3 separate regions of the Homo sapiens genome follow, and all the other regions are linked to region 3. The links are contacts of gene promoters, found by promoter capture Hi-C in human tissues and cell types (Jung and others, 2019). All regions are on one chromosome and are shown on one strand. Each heading gives the region's core, a stretch centred on a gene start or on the middle of the fragment in contact. The rest is flanking DNA. Distances are from core to core; before and after follow the strand shown.

Evidence for each region. The method cuts DNA at HindIII sites, captures the fragments that hold promoters and counts their contacts. A contact is called where the count stands out against the background at its distance.
Region 1: a fragment that was not itself captured here is called in contact with the fragment with the promoter of SOWAHB in region 3 in 2 of the 25 tissues and cell types used here (H1 embryonic stem cells and stomach).
Region 2: a fragment that was not itself captured here is called in contact with the fragment with the promoter of SOWAHB in region 3 in 1 of the 25 tissues and cell types used here (mesendoderm cells).

Annotation. Positions count from the first base shown.
Region 1 is chr4:76,593,928-76,597,075 of GRCh38, forward strand. All of the region lies in intron 2 of SHROOM3 (shroom family member 3), which reads left to right. Among named protein-coding and RNA genes, the nearest start is that of MIR548AH, 20 kb to the left of the region's middle. The HindIII fragment of the contact is 3,809 bases long and covers 1-3,148 here.
Region 2 is chr4:76,552,808-76,555,883 of GRCh38, forward strand. SHROOM3 (shroom family member 3) reads left to right here. Exons shown (of 11, transcript NM_020859.4): 2 at 2,802-2,956. Among named protein-coding and RNA genes, the nearest start is that of MIR4450, 19 kb to the right of the region's middle. The HindIII fragment of the contact is 3,492 bases long and covers 1-3,076 here.
Region 3 is chr4:76,896,729-76,899,821 of GRCh38, forward strand. It overlaps SOWAHB (sosondowah ankyrin repeat domain family member B), which reads right to left and starts at 1,416. Exons shown (of 1, transcript NM_001029870.3): 1 at 1-1,416. The coding sequence starts at 1,121. RefSeq lists silencers at 767-876, 1,137-1,436, 1,507-1,576. The HindIII fragment of the contact is 8,540 bases long and covers 1-3,093 here.

The DNA.
Region 1 (3,148 bases), core at 504-3,003, 300 kb before region 3:
CTGGCTGCCAGGTTGCTCGGTTATGATCAGTGGGCAGAGTGGACTGGAGCTGTTTTTTCTTTTGGAAAAACATTTCTGCAGTACTTATTACATTCTCAGTGATTTGCAAAAATGCTCTCTCTCTTAACCCAATGACAGAGCTACAGTTTTTGTTCCCATTTAACAGGTTAAACAATTGAGATACAGGGAACTAATCCAAAGTCTCACAGTGACAGGGACTTGAACCCAGGTCATCTGTCAACAGAGTCTGTGCTCTTAGCTGCTACATTGGATTTCTCATCCACAAAATGTCTAATCCTATGTGCTCTTTTTATTTGTTGTAGCTCTCCTGTTGATTCAGAGGGAAAACTGATATGGCATATTATTACACTTTATTGCCCTCTGTGAGGGCAGAGAACATAACCTATTGATACCAGTGCCTAGTGTAGCGCCTGGTGCATGCAGATACTCAAATATTTGTTGACTGAGTGAGGGAGTGAGGGTGTGACATGAATAAACAATAGTAAGGCCATAGAAATGCCATCCTAGTCTCAAGAGTCACAGAGATGTATGTAATCGCAGGATGTCACTTACATAAAAACTTTAACTTTGAAAAGTTAAAAAACATAAAATTAGAGGTGAGGACATCATGGGACAATTACAGTGTTTGAACCAGTGTCAACAATTTCATCCCTTGTTAGGCACTCATTCATAGTTTAATTAATAAATCACATTGCATTGGAAGTGTAGCTCCAAAGGACCCTGATGTCAGACTAACACCTGCTATGTGACAATTGGGGAGGGAACAGGGAACCATTGGAACGCCATGAATTCCACTAAATCAGTGCAAATCTGGATTTGGTGCATTTAACAAATGGACATTGAGACTCACAGATTTGTTATGGAGTAGAGAAAGGAAGCCTGAATCTTGACAATGCCAGTATCTAAGGGAACATTTGGGTGTATTGAACATAAACCCACTAAGACCAACTCAAATAAAAAGAGATGAAGATATCAAGATATGAAGGAAGCTTGTGAAATCCAACTATAGGAAGCCAGGAACACCTCAACATTAACTTAGTGGTGAAAAGCTCTTAGAGTCAGAAGGCCTGCATGTGAGTTCCAACCTTGGCATTGCTGAATTTGTGACCTTGGATAAGTTACCTCATATTTCTGAACCTCATTTACTTGTCTAAAAAGAAGGAATAATCAAAGTTTCTACCTTGTTGTGTTGTTGTGTAGTTTCAGTGAGATAATACATATAAAGCACTTGGAACACTGCCTGACACGTAATAGGAACTCAGTAACCATTAACTCTTATTATTATTTAGAAAGTAGGCAGCTATTCACTTTCTTTTTGGATTACATAGTTGTTCATTTCAGCTGACTTTGAACGTCAGTTCCATTGCTCTGTCTGCAGACTGGCTTTCTGACAGACATGGTGCCAGGGTTAATTTAATGGCATGGTGATGTCATCAAAGCTCCAGGTTTGTCTGTGTTTTCATTCTGCCACCCTTAGCATGATGATTTTCTTCCTTACATTTGTTCCTCATGGTTGCAAGGTGTTTGCTGCAGCTCCAGGCATCACGTCCTCACAGAGTCTTGTCCAAACAAGGGAAGGAGTTCTAGTTTTGTGTATTTCATCAAGAATGAGAAATACTTTTTCAAAAATCCTCCTGCAAACTCTCTTTTTTTAGGAGTCAGATCTCATTAGTTAGGCTTATGTCCTATATCCTTGCCTACACTAGTAACTGGCAGGGAGTCAGATTACCAAGAATAGTATAGACCAGGCATGGTTAATCCCTTAGGGTGATGAAGGAGCTGCCTTTCTGAGCACATCATTATCTGATCCTGCAATGGAATCAAAATTATACTTGTGGAGTAAAACAGGGGACAGTAACCATTGAGTAAACAATTATGAGGGCCTGTTTTAGATAAGCAAGTTTCTAAGCCAGGCAAATCAGAGTGTTTCTTTGTAATTTTATCTTTTTGTACATGGAGTCTAAGAGGAGGCAGAACTCTTGCAGTTGTTAATCTGGGATAAGGTAAACCTGAAGTTCTCTGCTCCATGGTTGTTTTCTGTGTACTTTACCCCTGCATGCACACACACTGAATCCTATTGCAAAGATAAAAGTGAGGTCTTTTTTTTCACCTTGCTCTCTCTGTCTATATACTGTCATGCACCCCATAATAATTTGGGTCAATGATGGACCCCATGCATGACAGTGGTTCCATAAACTGATAATGGAGCATACACAGAAGTGATATATAGTACTTGATATTATCCCTGCAGATCAAGTAGGGGAAATGTTTGATATTCAGTAATGTGCTGGGACATTTTCATATGAAAAAATAGAGAGCCAGGTGTGGTGGCTTGTGCCTATGATCCCAGCTACTTGGGAGTTAGAGGCAAGAGGATGGCTGGAGCCTGGGAGGTAGAGGCTACAGTGAGCTGTGATCACACCACCGTACTCCAGCCTGGGCAACAGAGCAAGACCCTGTCTCTAAAAAGAAAAGCAAAAGATGTTGTGTATAACATCTGGGTTTGTGTAAATACTGTCTGTGATGTTTGTATGATGAAATTGCCTAATCAGGCATTTCTGGTCACATATCCCCATCATTCAGCAATGCATGACTGTGTCTAGATGTATAGGTAGGTAGATAGGTACAGAGAAACACACACACACACACACACACACACACACACACACACACACACTCTCCAACAGATGCTGCCTCTCCCAAGGAAGAACCTGACAATAATTTCCAGTCCCTGAGGCCATCTCCATCCCTGGCCTTCTCAAGAAATTCCCATTTTTGCTTGATTTTCTCTGTGGGTTCAATGTTACTGTGTCATTTGCAACAACAATAACAAAATCCCATCAGAAGCATTCTCCTAAGCTTCTGGGATTCTGTCCCCTACATCTACTAGTGTGTGGCCCTGGCTCACCCCGGAGCCATCACTGGGCTCTACCCCATGTGCCCCACAGCTCTAGAGCCTTATCACCTGACACTCTCAGCCTTGCCCCAGCACCAGGTCGCACCAGCCGCAATGTGAACAGCTCTGCCTATAGCTGAGGAAGAGCTGGTCTAGCCTCACCCCTTCAACTGGGGCTTGATCAGGACCTGTTCTCCTAGAATAGACGGCAACGGAGAGACAGTAACCTCT
Region 2 (3,076 bases), core at 387-2,886, 340 kb before region 3:
ATATGGGTGAGGTTTTGTTTACTCAGGTTTTGTTTTTGTTTTCCCCTTTACTTCCCTTTCATTGTTATTGACGTCTATAAGTATCCATTGGCATGTGACCCAGATCGAGCCTTATTTTCCTGTTTCCAAAGCATATGATTAATTTCTAACGTACTACATTACTTACTTGTTTATTATGTTTATTGTTTGCTTCCCCTCCTCTGCCCATTAACTTAAGCATCAGAAGATCAAAAGGTTTTTGTCTATTTTGTCCACTTTTATAGCCCAAGCACTTGGAAAAATTTCTGATGTAAAGCAGGTGTTGAATAACTTTGTTGACTGAATAATAGTGCAGGACATTTTTGTTTTGTTTTGTTTTGTTTTGAGACAGAGTCTCGCTCTGTCGCCTAGGCTGGACTGGAGTGGAGAGCAGTGATGCAATCTCGGCCCACTGCACCTCCACCTCCTGGTTTCTTTTCTTTTCTCTTTTATTTATTTATTTTTTTTGAGACGGGGTCTCGCTCTATCACCCAGGCTGAAGTGCAGTGGCATGATCTCTGCTCACTGCAACCTCCACCTCCCAGGTTCAAATGATTTCCCTGCCTCAGCTTCCCGAGTAGCTGGGATTACAGGCATGCACCACCACACTCAGCTAATTTTTGTGTTTTTAGTAGAGACGGGGTTTCACCATGTTGGCCAGGCTGGTCTCGAACTCCTGACCTCAGGTGATCCACCCACCCCGGCCTCCCAAAGTGCTAGGATTACAGGCATGAGACACCGCACGAGGCCCACCTCGTGGTTTCAAGCGATTCTCCCACTTCAGCCTCCCAACTAGCTGGGATTACAGGTGTGTGCCACCACACCCGTCTAATTTTTGTATTTTTAGTAGAGACAGGGTTTCACCACATTGCGCAGGGTGGTCTTGGACTCCTGAGCTCAGGCAATCCAAATCCACCTGCCTCAGCCTCCCAAAGTGCTGGGATTACAGGCGTGAGCCACTGTGCCCAGCCAGCGTATTTATTTTTTAAGAGCAATATTAGGTTCATAAAAAAAAGACGAATGGAAGGTGCAGATATTTCCCATGTATCTGCTGCCCACACATACACATAGCCTCCCCCACTATCAAAATCCTGCACCAGAGTGATACATTTATTACAACTGATGAACCTACATGGACATCTCCTGTCACCCATAGTTTATAGTAGGTTCACTCTTGGTGCTGTACATTCTATGGGTTTTGACAAATGTACAAGGCATGTGTCCACCACTACAATATCATATCGAATGGTTTCACTGCCCTAAAATATTCTGTGCCACCATATTCATCCTACCCTTCCCTTTAACCTCAGCCACTGCTGATCTTTTTACTGCCTCCCTAGTTTTGCCTTTCCTACAATGTCATACACTTGAAATTGTGTGGTATGTAGCCTTTTCAGACTGGCTTCTTTCACTTAGAAATATGCATTTTAAGTTTCCTTCATGTTGTTTCATGGTTTGATAGCTCATTTCTTTTCAGTGCTGAATAATATTCCATTGTCTGAATGTACTACTTTATGTATCCAATGAATTATAATTTTAGAACAAAAAGTAAGGTAAGAGGAACACAACTTTTTTTTGTTGTTTTTTGTTTGTGTTTTTTTTTTTTTTTTTTGAGACGGAGTCTCACTCTGTCACCCAGGCTGGAGTGCAGTGGCGTGATCTCAGCTCACTGCAAGCGTCGGCTCTTGGGTTCATGCCATTTTCCTGCCTCAGCCTCCTGAGTAGCTGGGACTACAGGTGCCTGCCACCATGCCTGGCTAATTTTTTTGTATTTTTAGTAGAGATGGGGTTTCACCGTGTTAGCCAGGATGGTCTCGATCTTCTGACCCTGTGATCTGCCAGCCTTAGCTTCCCAAAGTGCTGGGATTACAGGCATGAGCCACCGTACCCGGCCAGAGGAACTCAACTTCTAATGTAACCCGTCCCCAACCCCCAGGCCACGGACCATTACAGTGGTCTGTTAGCAACCAGGCCGCACAGTAGGAGTGGATGAGTAAGTGAAGCTTCATTTGTATTTACAGCTGCTCCCCATTGCTCACATAACCACCCGAGCTCTGCCTCCTGTAAGATCAGTGGCAGCATTAGATTCTCACAGGAGCCCGAACCCTATTGTGAACTACACATGCGAGGGATCTAGGTAGCACACTCCTTATGAGAATCTAATGCCTGAAGATCTGTCACTATCTCTCATCGCCCCCAGTGGGACCATCTAGTTGCGGGAAACAAGCTCAGGGCTCCGCTGATTCTATGTTATGCTGAGTTGTATAATTATTTCATTATATGTTATAATGAAAAAATAATAAAGTGCACAATAAATGCAACGCACTTGAACCACGCCAAAACCATCCGCCCACACCCCATCCGTGGAAAAATTGTCTTCCACAAAACTGGTCCCTGGTGCCAAAAAGTTTGGGGACTGCTCTTCTAAAGGGATAAAACAGTTGCCCTGAGTGGACTTTTTGAAGATGTAAAGCAAGGGCTGGGGAGATGTCCTGAGCACCGTGGGATAATGGCCTTTGGATGGAAACTGAGTTCTGTCGTTCATTCAGCTGATGTTTAAGGGCGCCCTCCCTGGGCAGGCAGGGTGCTGGTTCTTGAGGGTGTGGACACCCAGAGCCAGTCCCTGCGCTCTCACAGTTTTCCCTCTGGCTGCAAGCGCTGGGGTGTGGCCCTAGCTGGTCCGTTGGGCTCTGCAGGAGTCTAAGCTGGGCTCGGGATAGCCGGACAGACCCCAGGCCAGGGGAAAGCTCACTCGTGGCTGTCGCATCTCTCCCTCCAAGCAGGTCGAAGAAGGGGGCAAAGCAGACACCCTGAGCTCCAAACTGCAGGCTGGGGATGAGGTTGTGCACATCAATGAGGTGACTCTGAGCAGCTCCAGAAAGGAGGCAGTTTCCCTGGTGAAAGGATCCTACAAGACCCTCAGGCTGGTAGTGCGCAGGTAGGTGGCAGACCCCCACCCTGTCCCTCCTACCACCTCACCCCACCTCTCTCCCTACCCTACCCCACCTCTGGGAAAAGAGCTCGGGGTTGGTAGCTTGGCTTTAAACCTCCATGTATG
Region 3 (3,093 bases), core at 166-2,665:
GCCCAGGATTCCCAGGACTCATCCGGAACAACAGGAAAGAGAGAGTGCGAGGAAAGACAGGGGTCTGGCGGCTCTGAATTAGGCTCCGTGGAGCCGGGTTCCAAGGGCAGCTGGAGGAAGTTGTCTGGCAGCACCGACCAGGCGCGGATAGGGCCCTGATCACGGGCCTCGGGCACCTGCGGGTGCCTGGCCACCCACTCTCGAGTGCGCTGCTGCTGCTGCTGCAGGGTCGAATAATGCAGGGAGCTGGGGGTCAGCAGCTCCGGCCGGTCTCCGCGGGGAGCGGGGCCGGGCAGGAGAGCAGGCGGGGAAGCCCTGCTTGTCGCAGCCTCGACGGTGGCGGGAGGCGAGTGAGCCACTGCAGGCACAGGCGCCGGCTCAGCTAGCGCGCCTTCTTCCCGCTCCCTGGAAGCCCCGCGGTCATCCTGGGCAGGCAGAGCCCGTGCCGGCTTCTCCTCCGCGGTGGCCGAGTGCGGGAGTGCGCCGAGCTCTCCCGGCAGTACAGCCAGGTTGTTCTGGAGGCATTCCCAGCAGCAGCGGCCCTGCGTCTTCGCCGCCGCGCAGCTCGCTCTCGCCTGGGCCCCTGCCGCTGCAGCTGCGGGCACCGGCGGCCTCTGTCCGGGACTGCCCTTCGATCCGCCGCCCTTCCCGGGCGCCCTACGGGAGTCGCTGCCCGGGAGTCCATTGCAAGCTGCGTCGGCGGCTCTGGCTGCTGCACCTGCTGGCTCCTCCTCCGGCTCCTTCTCGCGCCGCCGCCGCCTGGGCTGCTGCTGGGGCGGCTCCCCCCGGCGCGCGCCTCGCGGGGAGCAGGGCGCAGCTCCCCCTGCACTGGGGGCGGCCGCGGGCGGCTCGCGGGGTCGCTGCAGCCCCTCCTCCCCCAAAAGGTCCCTGTATCTCCTCTTGAGCACCACGTACTTGGTGCCGTCGGGGTCCTGGCGCACTGCGGCGACCGAGTTGACGAAGCCCTTGAAGAGCTCGCGGCGGTGCTGGTGCTGGCTGGGGGACGCGTCGGGGTCTCGGAGAAAGCTCTTGAAGTGGCTCAGCAAGGCAGCGTTGGTCACGCGGCCCCCAGCCTGGCACAGAAAGTCCAGTAGTGCCTCCTGGCTCAGCTCTCGGGCCATCGCTGCCTTGTCCTCCGCCCCAGAGGTGTCTGAGTCTCGCCCTCCCGGGGCTCTCCCCAGCCAGAGGAAACCCTGGCCGGGCGAGTGTCACCTGCGCCCGGGGCGGCACTAGCCGCCCCCATCAGCCGCGGAGGCCAGCGCTGCCCGCAGCCCGTGAGCGCGCCAGGAGGGCCGTGGGTCCCCTCCGGGTGGCCCCAAGGCTGAGTCCCCGCGGCAGTCTGCGTGAGAGAGGGCGGCTCCGAGGCCGCCCCTGCGCGACTCTAGCCTCTCGCAACGAGTCCTCACAGCGAAAGTTCCCGGGATAGGGCCGAGTCGGTTTCACCTGCGCCCTGGCGGCACCTCCTCCCTGCCTCTGGGGGAAGGGTCAGGCCCGCCTCCTCGTGTCCCTCCGCCCCCTGAGGTCTCCCCCACCCCCTGCCACCCATCCCAGAAGAGTCAGGCCGGAGAGCCAGCCGGTAGGTGAGGTTGGCGGCGAACCGAGCCGGCAGCGAACTGCTCTGCGGCCGGGGAAGTGGAAGGCAGGTAGGCGACCGGCCGTTCCTCTAAGTCTCCGCCACGCAGGAAACAAAAGCGATAGAAGGTCCGTTCCTGTCCTCCGGTGCTTTGATGAGTTCAGGCTGAAGCCGATGGGGGAGGAGGAGAAGCTGCAAGTTAACAGGCAATCTGAGTTATCTTTCTTTATTAACGCTGTAGAGGAGTACTTCAGATTTCTCGAGGCTGTATTGAGGTCCGCAAAACTCACTTTGCATCCAAACTAAATTTTTCTTAATATAGAAATACTTTCTGGGCCGCTTCTCCGGCGCCCCCTCCAAGGGGTCCGAATACATCCAAGTCTATACTGAAAAGAGAAATCACTCTGAAAATTACTACTGGGCAATATTGGTTTGGGACTTTTTCTTTCATACTTGTCTTTCCTTCATACTTGTCTCACATTAAGGTGCTGGAAAAAAAAAATCACTTTGATAGCTTCTTGCCCCCGGCGGCTAAAATGAACTAGGAATTATGTCTCGCCAGTTAAGGTATTTGATGTGTAGCATTAGTTTGCTTTTATTTACTCTAAAATTTGTGAACAGCAGAGATTTGTACAGTGTTTTGTATTGGCTTGGTGAAGTGCTTCCTTTCAGAATGTAAGGTTCAAAATGCAGACTAGAGCTGTCTTTAACAGCACCTTTTCCCCCTAACAGCTGGGATCCCTCTTCCTTTTTCTCTCTCCACATGTTGACCCTTCTGTCTTTGATGTGAGATCCTGGATGTCCCTCACTGTTCCTTATCAGTCCTGTTGACATGCCTGAGATAGTTTTCACTGTCATTATCTCTTTACCTGTTTTAGTTCCAAGCCTTCTCTCATTCTTTTCTTTAACTTGGCCTTCCCATTTCTTTCTGTTACACGACATCCTTGTTTACCTTCGGCCTCTACTGACAGGAAATATGTCTGTTTCTCAGATCCTCTCATGTCCACTGTATTTCCCATTCAAAAACCTCGATTTTCTCCTTCCCTGTAATTTGCCTCTCTTTTCTCATGGACTCTTCTCATCTTTTCACTTTTCCTTTTGCTCTTCTATTTCTGATTACTCATAGTTCCTATACTTCTCGCCAAGAAAGAGTATTGAAAGTATGTGTGTTGGCCCTACAATTGTTGACAAAGACATGTTTTAGCATGGACCAATCTTAGTGACTGCCCTATAGACCACATTAACTGAGCTTGATTTTAAATCCCCAAAAATACCCTAGCACTTTTCCAGGAATGAATCTTTGGTTTTACATTATCTAGGTCAGAAAAAAAGAACTGGAAACATTTTTGTCTATTTTTGGCATTTTCTAGGATCCAAACCCAATACTGGGTTGAGAGAGGGATAGTGGTTTTCACTGATGTCTCTACATAACATCAAGCCTTTAGGATAGTTTTTAAAATTAAGGTTTTGTATTAAATTTCAGCTTTCTTTTGAGTTTATTTGCTGGTATAGAGTCTTGT